4 separate regions of the Homo sapiens genome follow, and all the other regions are linked to region 4. Evidence: promoter capture Hi-C in human tissues and cell types (Jung and others, 2019). All regions are on one chromosome and are shown on one strand. The core of a region is centred on a gene start or on the middle of the fragment in contact, and the rest is flanking DNA. Distances in the headings are between cores, read along the strand shown. Region 1 overlaps LOC105372112 (a long non-coding RNA gene). Region 2 overlaps ACAA2 (acetyl-CoA acyltransferase 2). Region 3 has its middle 71 kb from the start of ACAA2. Region 4 holds the start of LIPG (lipase G, endothelial type).

Region 1 (3,243 bases), core at 200-2,699, 140 kb before region 4:
GCTAATGCCTTACCTCCCGCTACATAAAAATTTCCCTCCTAGACACAAGTTGAAAATAATATACTGATAGCTACTTAGTAACCTCAGTAAGAATTAAAACTGAGGTCATTTACTAATTTTGGAGAAAGAACTTACCTGTAAATCTTTTATCCTCTTTCGGTGAAGGTTTCCATTTAGGAAAAAAGTGTCAAACAATCCCTGATTTTTTTTTTGTATCATTTTCATTATTACACCAAATAAATGTTGGGAGTTGCCAGAAAAAAAAAAGATGACAGAAGAAATAGCAGGGTAAAAGCCCACAAAGGTGGGCCCTGGAAGCTTCTTTAATTGAATTACAACCATAGTAAGATTGTGAGTAAGTTGCTCTCTGAGGGCACTTTCCCCAGCCAGGAACCCCCCACCATAATGATCTGTGCCTTCTGGGAACCCAAAGGGGAACTTAAATGTTTATCTTTAATAAACACCACTTTACCCCAGGAGGCTGAGCTAGGCTTTGAAAACAGTAAAATAGGAAAGGGTGTTACAGGTGAGCAATATTCAGCTTGAATTCCAGTTTGATCAAAATATGTAAAAATGTGTTATTTCAAGAATGAGTCATAGCACCAAAATGGCTTGAGCTTTTTAGTCTGAGAGATTGCAAATTTTAGCTGAGAAGTCTCAATGTTCACTCTGAATTGGGCTGCATCTTACAAATGTCTCCTCTCTGGATCAGAAAGCAGCTACTAGAGCTGACTAGAGATGGGGACGAGTGGGCATTGAGAAAAAACTATGGGCTCACTCTGTAAACAAGGAACCCAATAAAGTAAAGACAGCCAGACCACCCACCCACCTTTAGCAAGTCTCTTTAAACCATGTGGATTCATCAACAGCTGTTCAGGGGCATTTCCAGAAACTGCTTCAAGGTCAAGCAGTCTGAGATGAGCGGGTGGCTATTGATGACACCACCATCTAGAGCCACTCCACACAGTGGAAGGCACAAAACATCATGTTTGTTGAAAACCAGAAACATTTCAAGAGGTAAGATGGATGTATAAAGGTTTTCCAGATATTCCATTACATTTTTCTCTATTGCTGAAATCTTTTTTTTTTTTTTTTTTGAAATGAAGCCTCGCTCTGTCACCCAGACTGGAGTGCAGCGGCACGATCTCGGCTCACTGCAACCTTTACCTCCCGGGTTCAAGCAATTCTCCTGCCTCAGCCTCCCAAGTAGCTGGGACTACAAGTGCACACCACCACACCTGGCTAAATTATTTTTTGTATTTTTAGTAGAGATGGGGTTTCATCGTGTTAGCCAGGATGGTATCGATCTCCTGACCTCGTGATCCACCTGCCTCGGCCTCCCAAAGTGCTGGAATTACAGGCGTGAGCCACCGTGCCTGGCCTGCTGAAATCTTTTAAATATTACTAAAAATTTACGGATCCACATGAAATATGCTCACCATCATTAATTGCTAGGGAAATGCAAATCGAAGCCACAATAAGGTACCACCTCACATCCATTAGGATGGCTGTAACCAAAGAAACAGAAAATAACAAGTGTTGACGAAGATGTGGGAAAATTGGGGCCCTAGTGTATTGCTGGTGGGTATGCAAAATGGAGCAGCTACTGTGGGAGCTAGTATTCTGGCTCCTCAAAAAAATTTAACATAGATTACCATATGATCAGCAATCCCACTTCTGGGTATGTTCCTCCAAAAAATCGGAAACGGGACTCAAACAGCTATTTGCACACCGTGGTTCATAGCAGCATTATTCACAATAGCCAAAGGTGGAAACAACCCAAATGCCCATCAATAGAGGTGGGTATAAACAAAGTGTGGAATATCCACACAGTGGAATATTATTCAGCCTTCAAAAAGAAGGAAATTCTGGCACATGCTACGACATGGATGAACCTTGAAAACACTTTATTAAGTGAAGTAAGCGAGACACAAAAGGACAAATACTATGATTCCACTTACATGAGATACCTAGAGCAGTCACATTCCTAGAGGCAGAAAACAGAACGGTGGTTGCCAGGGGGCTGGTGGGAGAAAGGGGAATGAGGAGTTAGTGTTTAATGGATACAGAACTTCAGTTTGGGAAGATGAAAATGCTCTAGAGATGGGTAGTGGTGATAATAGCACAACATTGTGAATGTACTTAATGCCACTGAACTGTTCACTTAGAAATGGTTCAGATGGGCTGGGCGCGGTGGTTCATGCCTGTGATCCCACTTTGGGAGGCTGAGGTGGGCAGATCATCTGAGGTCAGGAGTTCGAGACCAGCCTAGCCAACATGGTGAAACCCCCTCTCTACTAAAAATACAAAAATTAGCCAGGCGTGGTGGCGGGCACCTATAATCCCAGCTACTTGGGAGGCTGAGGCAGGAGAATCACTTGAACCTGGGAGATGGAGGTTGCAGCGAGCCAATATCGTGCCACTGCACTCCAGCCTGGGTGGCAGAGTCAGACTCCGTTTCAGAAAAAAAAAAAAAAAAGAAAAGAAATGGTTCAGATGGTAAATTTTTATGTTATATATGTTTTACTATAATTGGCCAGATGTGGTGGCTCATGCCTGTAATCCCAGCACTTTGCAGGGCTGAGGCAGGTGGATCACTTAAGGCCAGGAGTTTGAGACCAGCCTGGCCAACATGGTGAAACTCCATCTCCACCAAAAATAAAAAATTACAAAGATTTTTTAAAAAAATACAAGAAAACTGAAAAATATGGCGTATTTGTCATTCAGAAGCAAAAAAAAAATTGAAAAAGTACATAAAAGAAAAATTCACAGATATCTTGGAAAGTTAATTATAAAATATTCAAACAATATAGATAAAGCAAAAGTCCTTCTTGATTACGCCATGCCCTCAACGTAACCATTATCTTCAGTTTGAGGCATACCCCATAGATAGCTCATATGCATTTCCAATAGTGGATATATCTGTGCGGAATTCACATATTTCTGTTTTGTATTCAACTTTTACATAATTGTTGTCATATTGAGCACTGTGGCCAATCAGATTAAACTCTATTTCTCATACTAGATTGATTTCTGGCTTTCCCTCTGGGCTGACCATTTCTTCCTCTCCTTCGTGGTTTCCCACGTCCTCCCTGCCTGATGATTCTGGGCCAAGAGAACCTCCCCTTGCTTTAATTCCTAACATTTTGGAAGAATGCAGGAATTTAGAAAGTGTCTGGCGTGGCCTCAAAGTAGCACATGACCGCCTTCACCCACATGATGCCCCACAGCCCCCGGGCTTAT
Region 2 (3,093 bases), core at 225-2,724, 250 kb before region 4:
TAGCTTTGCCTTTTCCAGATATCATGTAGTTGGAATCATACAGTATATGGCCTTTCCAGACTGGCTTCTTTCACTTAGCGACATGCATTTAAGATTCCTTCCTTTTATGGCTTGATAGCTCACTTCTTTTTATTGCTGAATAATATTCCATTGTATGGCTGCACCACAGTTTGTTTATCCATTCACCTGTTGAAGGACATTGTTGTGGGAAGTCAGGGACCCTGAATGGAGGGACCGGCTAGAGCTGTGGCAGAGGAACATAAATTGTGAAGATTTCATGGACATTTATCACTTCCCTAATAATACTCTTAACGCCTGTCTTACTTTAATCTCTTAATCCCGTTATCTTCGTAAGCTGAGGATGTACGTCACCTCAGGTCCACTGTGATGATTGTGTTAACTGTACAAATTGATTGTAAAACGTGTGTTTGAGCAATATGAAATCAGTGCACCTTGAACAGAATAACAGCGATTTTTAGGGAACAAGGGAAGATAACCATAAGGTCTTTACTGCCTGCGGGGTCGGGCAGTAGGAGCCATATTTTTCTTCTTGCAGAGAGCCTATAAACGGATATGCAAGTAGGAGAGATATCACTAAATTCTTTTCCTAGCAAGGAATGTTAAGACCCTAGGAAAAGAATTGTATTCCTGGGGGGAGGTCTATAAATGGCCGCTCTGGGAGTGTCTGTCTTATGCGGTTGAGATAAGGACTGAAATACCCCCTGGTCTCCTGCAGTACCCTCAGGCTTATTAGGGTGGGGAAAAAACGCTTCTTGGTAAATTTGAGGTCAGACCAGTTCTCTGCTATTGAACACTGTTTTCTGTTGTTTAAGATGTTTATCAAGACAATATGTGCACAGCTGAACATAGGCCCTTATCAGGAGTTTTTGATTTTGCCCTTTGCCTTGTGATCTTTGCTTTGTCCTTTGCCTTGTGATCTTTATTGGCCTCAGAAGCATGTGATCTTTGTTCTCCTTTTTGCCCTTTGAAGCATATGATCTTTGTGACCTACTCCCTGTTCGTACACCTGCTCCCCTTTTGAAATCCTTAATAAAAACCTGCTGGTTTTGTGGTTCAGGTGGGCATCCTGGACCTACCGATATGTGATGTCACCCCCGGCGGCCCAGCTGTAAAATTCCTCTCTTTGTACTCTTTCTGTTTCTCAGACCGGCCGACACTTAAGGAAAATAGAACCTACACTGAAATATTGGGGGGCGGGTTCCCATGATAGGACATCGTGGTTGCCTTCAAGTTTTAACAATTAGGAATAAACATTTGTTTGCAGGTTTTTGTTTGAACATAAGTTTTCAAATCATTTAGGTAAATACAAGGAACCTGATTGCTGTATCATACATATGGTTAGGTGTGTTTAGTTTTATAAGAAACTGCCAAAGTGTCTTCCAAGCTGGCCATACCATTTGCATTCCCACCAGCAGTGAATGAATTTCTGTTGTTCCACATCCTCACCAGTGTTTGGTGTTGTCAGTGTTTGGGATTTTAGCCTTTCTAAAATCCAAAAGACTAATAGTTGTGTAGTAGTATCTCATTGTTTTAATTTGCAATTCCCTAATGACATACAATGTTGAGCATCTTTTCATATGCTTATTTGCCATCTGTATATCTTCTTTAGTAAGGTATCTGTTCAGATCTTTTGCCCATTTTTAAATTGGGTTGCATGGGTTTTTTTTTTTTTTTTTAATTGCTGAGCTGTAAGAACACTTTGTATGTTTTGGATACCAGTCCCTTATCAGTTAGGTGTTTTTATAAATATTTTCTCCTAGTCTGTCGCTTGTCTTTTCATTCTCTTAACAGCATCTTTTGCAGAGCAGAGGTTATTTATTCATTTGTTTTTAGAGGGTCCCGCTCTGTCACCCAGGCTGGAGTACAGTGGTGTGAACACGGCCACTGTAGCCTTGACCTCCTGGGCTCTAGCAGTCCCCTTGCCTCAGCCTCCCAAGTGGCTAGGACCACAAGCACACACCACCATGCTTGGCTGATTTCTTAATTTTTTATAGAGACAGGGTCCCATCATGTCTCCCAGGCTGGTCTCAAACTCCTGGGCTCAAGCAGTCCTCCCACCTTGGCCTTCCAAAATGCTGGGATTATAGGCATGAGCCACTGCACACAGCCAGAAGTTTTCTATTTTAATGAAGTCCAACCTAAGTTTTCCCTTCATGGATCCTGCTTTTGGTGTTAGATCTAAAAAATTATCACCAAACCCAAAGCCATGTAGATTTTTCTCGTATGTTCTAAGAGTTTTGCATTTTATATTTAAGTCTATGATCTCTTTGTTTTTGTTTCTGTTTTTTTAGATAAGAGATCTCACTCTGTCACCCAGGCTGGAGTGCAGTGACTTGATTGTAGCCCACGGTAGCCTTGAACTCAGCCTCCTGAATAGCTGGGACTACAGGCACATGCCACTATGCCCAACTAATTTTTTACATTTTTTAGAGATGGGGATCTCGCTATGTTGCCTAGGCTGGTTTCAAACTCCTATCCTGACACAGTCCTCCCACCTCAGCCTCTTGAGTAGCTGAGATTATAGGCTTGAGCCACAGTGCCCAGCCCACTATCAAAGTTGACGCATTTTTGCCTGGATTCATTTTGTTTGGTATATAGATGTTTTGTTGTTCCAGCACTGTTTGTTGGAAAGACGATCCTTTTTCCAGTGAATTGCCTTTCCTCCTTTGTCAGACCTTGAGGTTCTGGCTTTGTTTTTTAATCTTTTTTTTTTCATCTGTTCTTCAGATTGGTTAATTTCTATTTATCTATCTTCAAAGTCGCTGAATTTTTCTCCTTTCATTTCTATTTTGCTGTTAAGCCCATCCAGGGAATTTTTTATTTCAGGTATTTTCCAGTTTTGGAATTTCCATTTTGGATTTTTATAGTATGTATTTCTTTACTGAGATGTCCTATGTTTTATTAGGAGCATATTTTCCTCTACATCCTTGAGCATAGTTGTAATAGAATGCTATTTTAAAATCCTTGTCTGCTAATTTCAGTGTCTGGGTCTTCTTGGGATTGGTCTCTGTTGATTGTCATATTTTTTGTTTCCTCATATGTGGATTAACTTTGAATTATATTATGAATATT
Region 3 (3,402 bases), core at 746-3,245, 180 kb before region 4:
CACTGCCTCTTTCCCGGGGGAACTGCCAACCCAAGGCGTGCAGAGGCTGGCAGCCATGCTCCCTGCTGTGTGGGAAAGCCGCATCCAAGCCAATCTGCAGAGAAGCAGATATGAGCGATGGAAATCAGAACTTGGCAACATTTGAGTCCTTAGTTCTGCATCCTTTTTCTCCTTTCCCATCTCTTGGTTTGGTTACATGAGGCAATAAATAATCTTTTTTTTTTTTTTTTTTGAGACAGAGTCTCACCCTGTCGCCCAGGCTGGAGTGCAATGGTGTGATCTCGGCTCACTGCAACCTCCGCCTCCTGGGTTCCAGCGATTCTCCTGCCTCAGCCTCCCAAGTAGCTGGGATTAGAGGCACGTGCCACCACGCCTGGCTAATTTTTTGTATCTTTAGTAGAGACAGGGTTTTACCATGATCTCTTTTTAAAATTATTATTATTACTACTATAATTTGAGACAGGGTATCGCTCTGTTACCGAGGCTAGAGTACAATGGCATGAACATGGCTCACTGCAGCCTCGAACTCCTGGGCTTAAGTGAGTCTCCCACCTCAGCATCCCAAGTGGCTAGGACCACAGGTGCCTACCACCACACCTGGCTAATTAAAAAAAAATTTTTTTTATAAAGACAGGGGTATCACCATATTGCCCAGGCTGGTCTTGAACTCCTGGGCTCAAGCAATTCTGCTTTGGCCTCCCAAAGTGCTCGGAGGTGTGAGCCACCGTGCCCAGTCAGTGAATGATCTCTTTTTCCTAAGACGGTTCAGATAGAAGCTCTGTTACTTGCATCCTGCCTTGTGACCCTATCTCCTACCTGCCCACCTTTCCATCATTGTTGTGGTTTTCCTTCTCTTTATCTTCCACCTCTCCCCACCCTGACCCCTTTCACAGGTCCACTAAATTGCTAAAGCCTCACTCTGCCTAATAGAAACACCCCTTTCTCCTGTGAAGTCTGCACAGCTGCACCTTCCCCTCTCCTGTCATCCCACTCCGGGAAGAGCTGCCTCACTGGTGTCATCATCTGCTCCTTCCCTTGCCCTTCACTGCCAGGCTCTGATGCTTATCTCCCTTGGAGGCCAATCTCTGAAGACCCAACCCAGTGGTCTTTTCTTAGCCTTCATCCTCTTCAATCTCTTTCCCTCTTTTGTATTCCTAAATGTACAGGCCTCCCAAGGTTTTGGACTTGGCCCCACGCATGTTGGTCCTGACTTGTCCTTCTTTCGCAATCCCGTCTGTCTCCTTGTTTAGATGTCCCTACTATGGCCCTCAGATCTGTCTGTTGGTCCCTGACCCATCTCCAGCCCTGAATTCGCAGTGGCCCTGAACGCAGCCTCACCTGCATGCTTCATCAGCACCTCAAACTCAAACTGCCCAGAAAACATCTGGATATCATCAGGAAAAAGACACTGGACCCATCCCTTAGACCCTACACCAGAATACATTCCAAAAGGATGAGAGATCTGTGTTTGAATAGTGTAAAAGAAAAATTGGAGACACAATTACATTTTAAAGAGTTTATTTGAGGAAAAAGCAATTCATGAATTGGGGTATGCCAGACCAAAAAAATGTTCAATGTTCTAATGACATAGCGTCAGAGGCAAATATTTTTAGGTTGAATACGGAAAAAAGATAAAGAAATTATTTGATTGGTGACAGTTGCAAAATTATCTTATTTGATTCATCCCATTCGAAAGTCCCTAGTTATATAATTAGAAACTTTTTGTCTGCCAATAATTGGCTGAGGTTTTCTTTCTAACATAAGCATTTACCAGAAATGGCTAAAGTTAAGTTTTGCTAAAGTTTGCAAATTAAGCAAAGTTAAGATGACTTATGAGGCCTGACTGCTTTTGTCTAGTCAGAGATTCTTCAGGCTGGTCTCTCGTCATTTTAATTTACTTTAACAACAGTGAACTCATAGGAATTAGAATAAAGACTGAAACTGCAAGACTGAAAGCACATACCACTTATTAGGAAAAATCTCTAACAGTAAACCTTCAGACACATTCTGGTTAAACCATTAAACTAAAATTTTTTTTTCACATTCAGGACAAAAATAATTCACTTACAAGGAGAAAAATCAGGTGGGTTTCAGATGTCTTTCCAGCAGCAATCAGTGCCAGAGCAAAGGAGAAATGTCCAGAAGAAAAACAGAATATGACCCAAGTGGATTCTACCCAGCCAAGCTGGAGCTTAGGTATAAAGGCAAGAGCTCACATTTTCAGACATGAAGGGACTCAGAAAATACAACATCTGTTAGCCCTTGTGAAAAATCTACTTGATGGTGAGATCTTGTTAACTAAAGGTTGCATCAAAAGAGAGTCCTGCCATTCTGAAGCTGTAGAAGTGGGATTGGTAGGGAGCATGGAATCCAGGTGGATGCAGGAATGCTATTAACACCCAGGAGAGAGATGGTTTCAGATGCAGAATGAAATGTTGCAAACTCTGAAAAGTTGAAATAATTTAAGCATCGAAACCAGAAAGAAGAAGAGGGCAGGATAGACGTGTATCTAAATGTTAATCTCTTATCTTTCCCAGCGTGTATCAATCTCATCTCTACGGAAACTCACTTTTTTTTTTTTTTTTTTTTAGACATAGCACTCTGTCGCCCAGGCTGGAGTGCAGTGGTGTGATCTCAGCTCACCGCAACCTCCGCTTCCTGGGTTCAAGTGATTCTCCTGCCTCAGCCTCCCTAGTAGCTGGGATTACAGGCATGTGCCACGACACCCAGCTAATTCTTTTTGTGTTTTTAGTAGAGATGGGGTTTTGCCATGTCGGCCAGGCTGATCTCGAACTCCTGACCTCAGGTGATCTGCCCACCTTGGCCTCCCAAAGTGCTGGGATTACAGGCGTAAGCCATTGTGCCTGGCCGAAAACTCACATTTTAAAAAACCCACAATGCAAAAAAATAACAGATGCTGGTGAAGTTGTGGAGAAAAGGGAACGCTTATACACTCCTAGTGGGAATGTAAATTAGTTCAGCCATTGTGGAAAGTAGTGTGGCAATTCCTCAAAGAACTTAAAACAGAATTACCATTCAACTCAGCAACCCCATTATTGGATATACACCCAAATGAATATAAATCATTCTACCATAAAGACATATGCATGTGAATGTTCATCACAACAGCACTCACAATAGCAAAGATATGGAATCAACCTAAATGCCCAGTGGTAGACTGGATGAAGAAAATGTGATACACTTACACCATGGAATACTATGCAGCTATAAAAAAGAATGAAATCATGCCCTTTGCAGCAACATGGATGGAGCTGGACGCCATCACCCTAAGCAAATTTACACAGGAACAGAAAACCAAATGCCACATTTCTCACTTATAAGTAGAAGCTAAACGCTGAGTACATATGACACAAAGAAAGGAATGACAGACACCAGGGCCTA
Region 4 (2,951 bases), core at 336-2,835:
TTCCCCCACCAACATGCCCCACCTTCCTCCTCTGCTTGATTTTTCTCCATAATACTGAGCACCACTGATACTTTAATCAGTGCACTGTCTGTCTTCCCACCACTGAAATGTAAGTGTCACAAGGGCACAGATTGCCATCTATTTTGTCCACTGCTCTCTCCCCTGCTCCCAGAATAGTGTCTGACACTAAGTAGGTATGCAGTAAATACTTTTTGCAATGAAGGAAATGACTCACACATACTCAGAGGCCCAGAACACAGAAGTTAGAAGGAACTTTAGCATTTTACAGGTGAGGAGCCAGAGATGAGACCTGCCCTAGGCAATGCTTCTAGTTAGCACCAGAGTTGGAAACATGTTGAGTAAAGCAAGGCTTTCCATTCATTCACAGTAACCCTCCCACACATACACAAGCCCACACAGACCATTTGGCACAACCTCAGCAGACTAGAAGATGAGATGATGGGGTTCAGTTTAGAGGCTCCCCAGCCCTCCACTGCTTATCAGCTGACTTAGTTCTCACTCTGATTCTGACTCCCCCAGAGCTGACTGACTCTGGCTCCCCCAGGGCAAGCTGCCTCCACTGGCAAAGGCTGCCATACAGAACCCAAGAGGAAGAGAAGCTAAAAGCCAGGAGGAGGAAAGGGAGGAGGAGTGGGAAGAGGAAGAGTCGGGGGAGCACAAGAGTGTTGAAGAGGAAAAGGCTGGCAACCTGGGGGAATAGGCCCGGCAGCTTCTAAGCACAAGCGACCCACCAGACGCTCCCTGCAAGCACGAATCAAACCAAAGCCAGCTACCCTGCCACCTGAACTTTCAAGACACCTACACCAAGATTAAAAGGCAGCTCCAGGAGACACAGCTCTGACAGCCTTCTTGCCTCTCAAACCTCCAGGTTCAGGCATGAGGACAAGGTTTCAGAGCTGCTGCCAGGCCGCTCGGCTGGCTGGACAGCACCAGCACTGGCTTAGGGAGCCGTATAAGGGAAGGAGGTGGGGGTGGGAGGGCTGGCAAGAGCCAGCGCACCCTGCCAGCCTTTGCCTTTTGCATGACTTGCCGGGAATGCCCCCATCAGACCAGCAGAGAGACAGGTGGACTCCAAGGTGGATTGGAGGAGAGAATGGGCAGCGCAGTGGGAAAGGAAGAATTTCATAGGAACAAGGAGGGTTTGAAGAATCAGCAAGACAGAGGGGACCCAGCACAGAGAAGTGGCTGGGGGGAATAAAAACAAATTCACGTTACCTTCCAGCCGTCCCTCTGGACCAAAAGGTACGGGGCTCCCCGCAGCAAAGCAATAGCAGAGGCTCCAGAAACAGAGCAGAGGAACGGAGTTGCTCATCCTGCCCCGCCACACCCCCTCCCAAGAAACAGAAGTTTTAAAAAACAAAAACCACCTCTTGGTGTTTCCAGCAATCCCGGCCGGTAAGACCCTTCTCTCGGCCAGGGGCTGGGGGACTGGAGGCAGAGAAGGTGGAAAATGAAAACTTGGCGGCACGGAGCCCGGGCGGTGGCAGGGAGCGAGTGTCAACGGCTTGCCCCAGAACGAGATCTGCCCTCGTCCTGAGCCGCCGGGAGGCAAGGACTCGCTGCTGTCACGCTCCTATAGAGGTAGTTTTTAAAAGTATGGGAGTCATCTGACCCATCGCCAGATGGTGATTTGCATAATTTATTCCCGTCTCTGGGCTCTGATTGGTCACACCTTGCTGACGCCGGAACCGAGACTGGAGAAAGTTTGAATGAAAGCGCTGCACACTCACCGCGTGGACGCCGCACGCTCGGCCCCGCTTCCTCCCGGGCCCGCTCCGCAGGCAGCTGCGACTCCAGCAGCTCCAGCTTTCTCCCACTGCCCTCCTCCGGACACCCAGATCCTCCTCTCCCCACTGCCATCCCAAGTGGCGGAGGCGGACATTTCCCTGAAACTCTGCGTCCGCTGGGGAGGCGATCCCTGGAGAAGGAGAGCATCCTCTCCAAGGCTCAAAGCCACACTCTCTCTGGGAGTGGTCTATCCGCTCCCTGGGCCGGGAGTCCGTCGGGGGAGAGCCACCTGGTCATCCCCTTTGTCCTCCTCTTCTCCCTCCCTTCCCGCCTAGCGAGGGCCGCAACAGGTGCAGAAGGCGCGGCCGCACAATAACCCGGCGGAGCTAAGGGGCTGTGAGCTGCGGCCGGCGCTGGAGGATCGCACAGTACCTGCTCGGAATGCTCGCTCCGCCACTAGCTGCAAAACTCCAAGCGAGCCAGCCAGCTTCTCCGAGGCGGTTCTCTCGTCCGCAATACGTGGGTGATAATGTATCGGCGGCTTAGGGATGTTGGGAAAACTAAGAGTTCACGTAGCAAAGCACTTAGCGAGGCGCGGAGCTCGTGGCAGGCGCTCTCCTACGGTGGGGTGGAGGGCTACGGGAACACCAGGCGACCTCCTCAAAGGGACCAGTGAGCCGAGATTTGGAGTCTAAGACGCGTGGCCAGAGCCCAGTGTCTGCCGATGAGCACTCACTCCTTGGCGAGTGAAATCAAGCATCTCCTTTCTCTCTGTTCTCCATCATTTCCTCCCGGCTCTCCTTCCCTTTATTGATCCGGGTCCTGCGGCAGAAAGCAGCGAGCGGAGGGAGAACTTGGCCCGGAGTCTGCGTCTGGCGCTGGGGAGCGGGGACTGAGCCCGGAACACCGACGGGGCGGCTGCGCCAACAACCACTGCGGACGCAGGGCGGGTACGAGAGGCTGAGAGGCTGCGTCCCGCCATCCAGCCTCGCTCCAGCCGGGAGGATCCGGCTCTTTAAGACGATACCCTTAACCCTGCAGTCGCCCGGAACAGGTCCTGCCCCTGCCTGGGGAGGGAAAACCCCCACAGCAGTCCCGCGCCCCTTCCTCCCTAGCGTCGAGGATCCAGCTGGAGAGACCTGTGCGAGGAAACCGAGCCGGAGCCAGCAGATCCTGTTCCGACCTCGCCTCATTACTTTTGT

What was found. Contacts are between HindIII fragments. The study calls those that stand out against the background at their distance.
Region 1: a contact is called between a fragment that was not itself captured here and the fragment with the promoter of LIPG in region 4, in 1 of the 25 tissues and cell types used here (heart left ventricle).
Region 2: a fragment that was not itself captured here is called in contact with the fragment with the promoter of LIPG in region 4 in 3 of the 25 tissues and cell types used here (dorsolateral prefrontal cortex, hippocampus and liver).
Region 3: a fragment that was not itself captured here is called in contact with the fragment with the promoter of LIPG in region 4 in 6 of the 25 tissues and cell types used here (H1 embryonic stem cells, IMR-90 fibroblasts, adrenal gland and 3 more).

Annotation. Positions count from the first base shown.
Region 1 is chr18:49,704,526-49,707,768 of GRCh38, reverse strand. All of the region lies in intron 3 of LOC105372112 (a long non-coding RNA gene), which reads right to left. Among named protein-coding and RNA genes, the nearest start is that of ACAA2, 110 kb to the left of the region's middle. The HindIII fragment of the contact is 6,279 bases long and covers 1-3,243 here.
Region 2 is chr18:49,806,587-49,809,679 of GRCh38, reverse strand. The region is part of intron 1 of ACAA2 (acetyl-CoA acyltransferase 2); the gene reads left to right. Among named protein-coding and RNA genes, the nearest start is that of ACAA2, 5.4 kb to the left of the region's middle. The HindIII fragment of the contact is 8,087 bases long and covers 1-3,093 here.
Region 3 is chr18:49,741,236-49,744,637 of GRCh38, reverse strand. No RefSeq gene overlaps it. Among named protein-coding and RNA genes, the nearest start is that of ACAA2, 71 kb to the left of the region's middle. The HindIII fragment of the contact is 9,868 bases long and covers 1-3,402 here.
Region 4 is chr18:49,560,691-49,563,641 of GRCh38, reverse strand. LIPG (lipase G, endothelial type) reads right to left here and starts at 1,585. Exons shown (of 10, transcript NM_006033.4): 1 at 1,237-1,585. The coding sequence starts at 1,333. RefSeq lists an enhancer at 878-1,378. The HindIII fragment of the contact is 10,319 bases long and covers 1-2,951 here.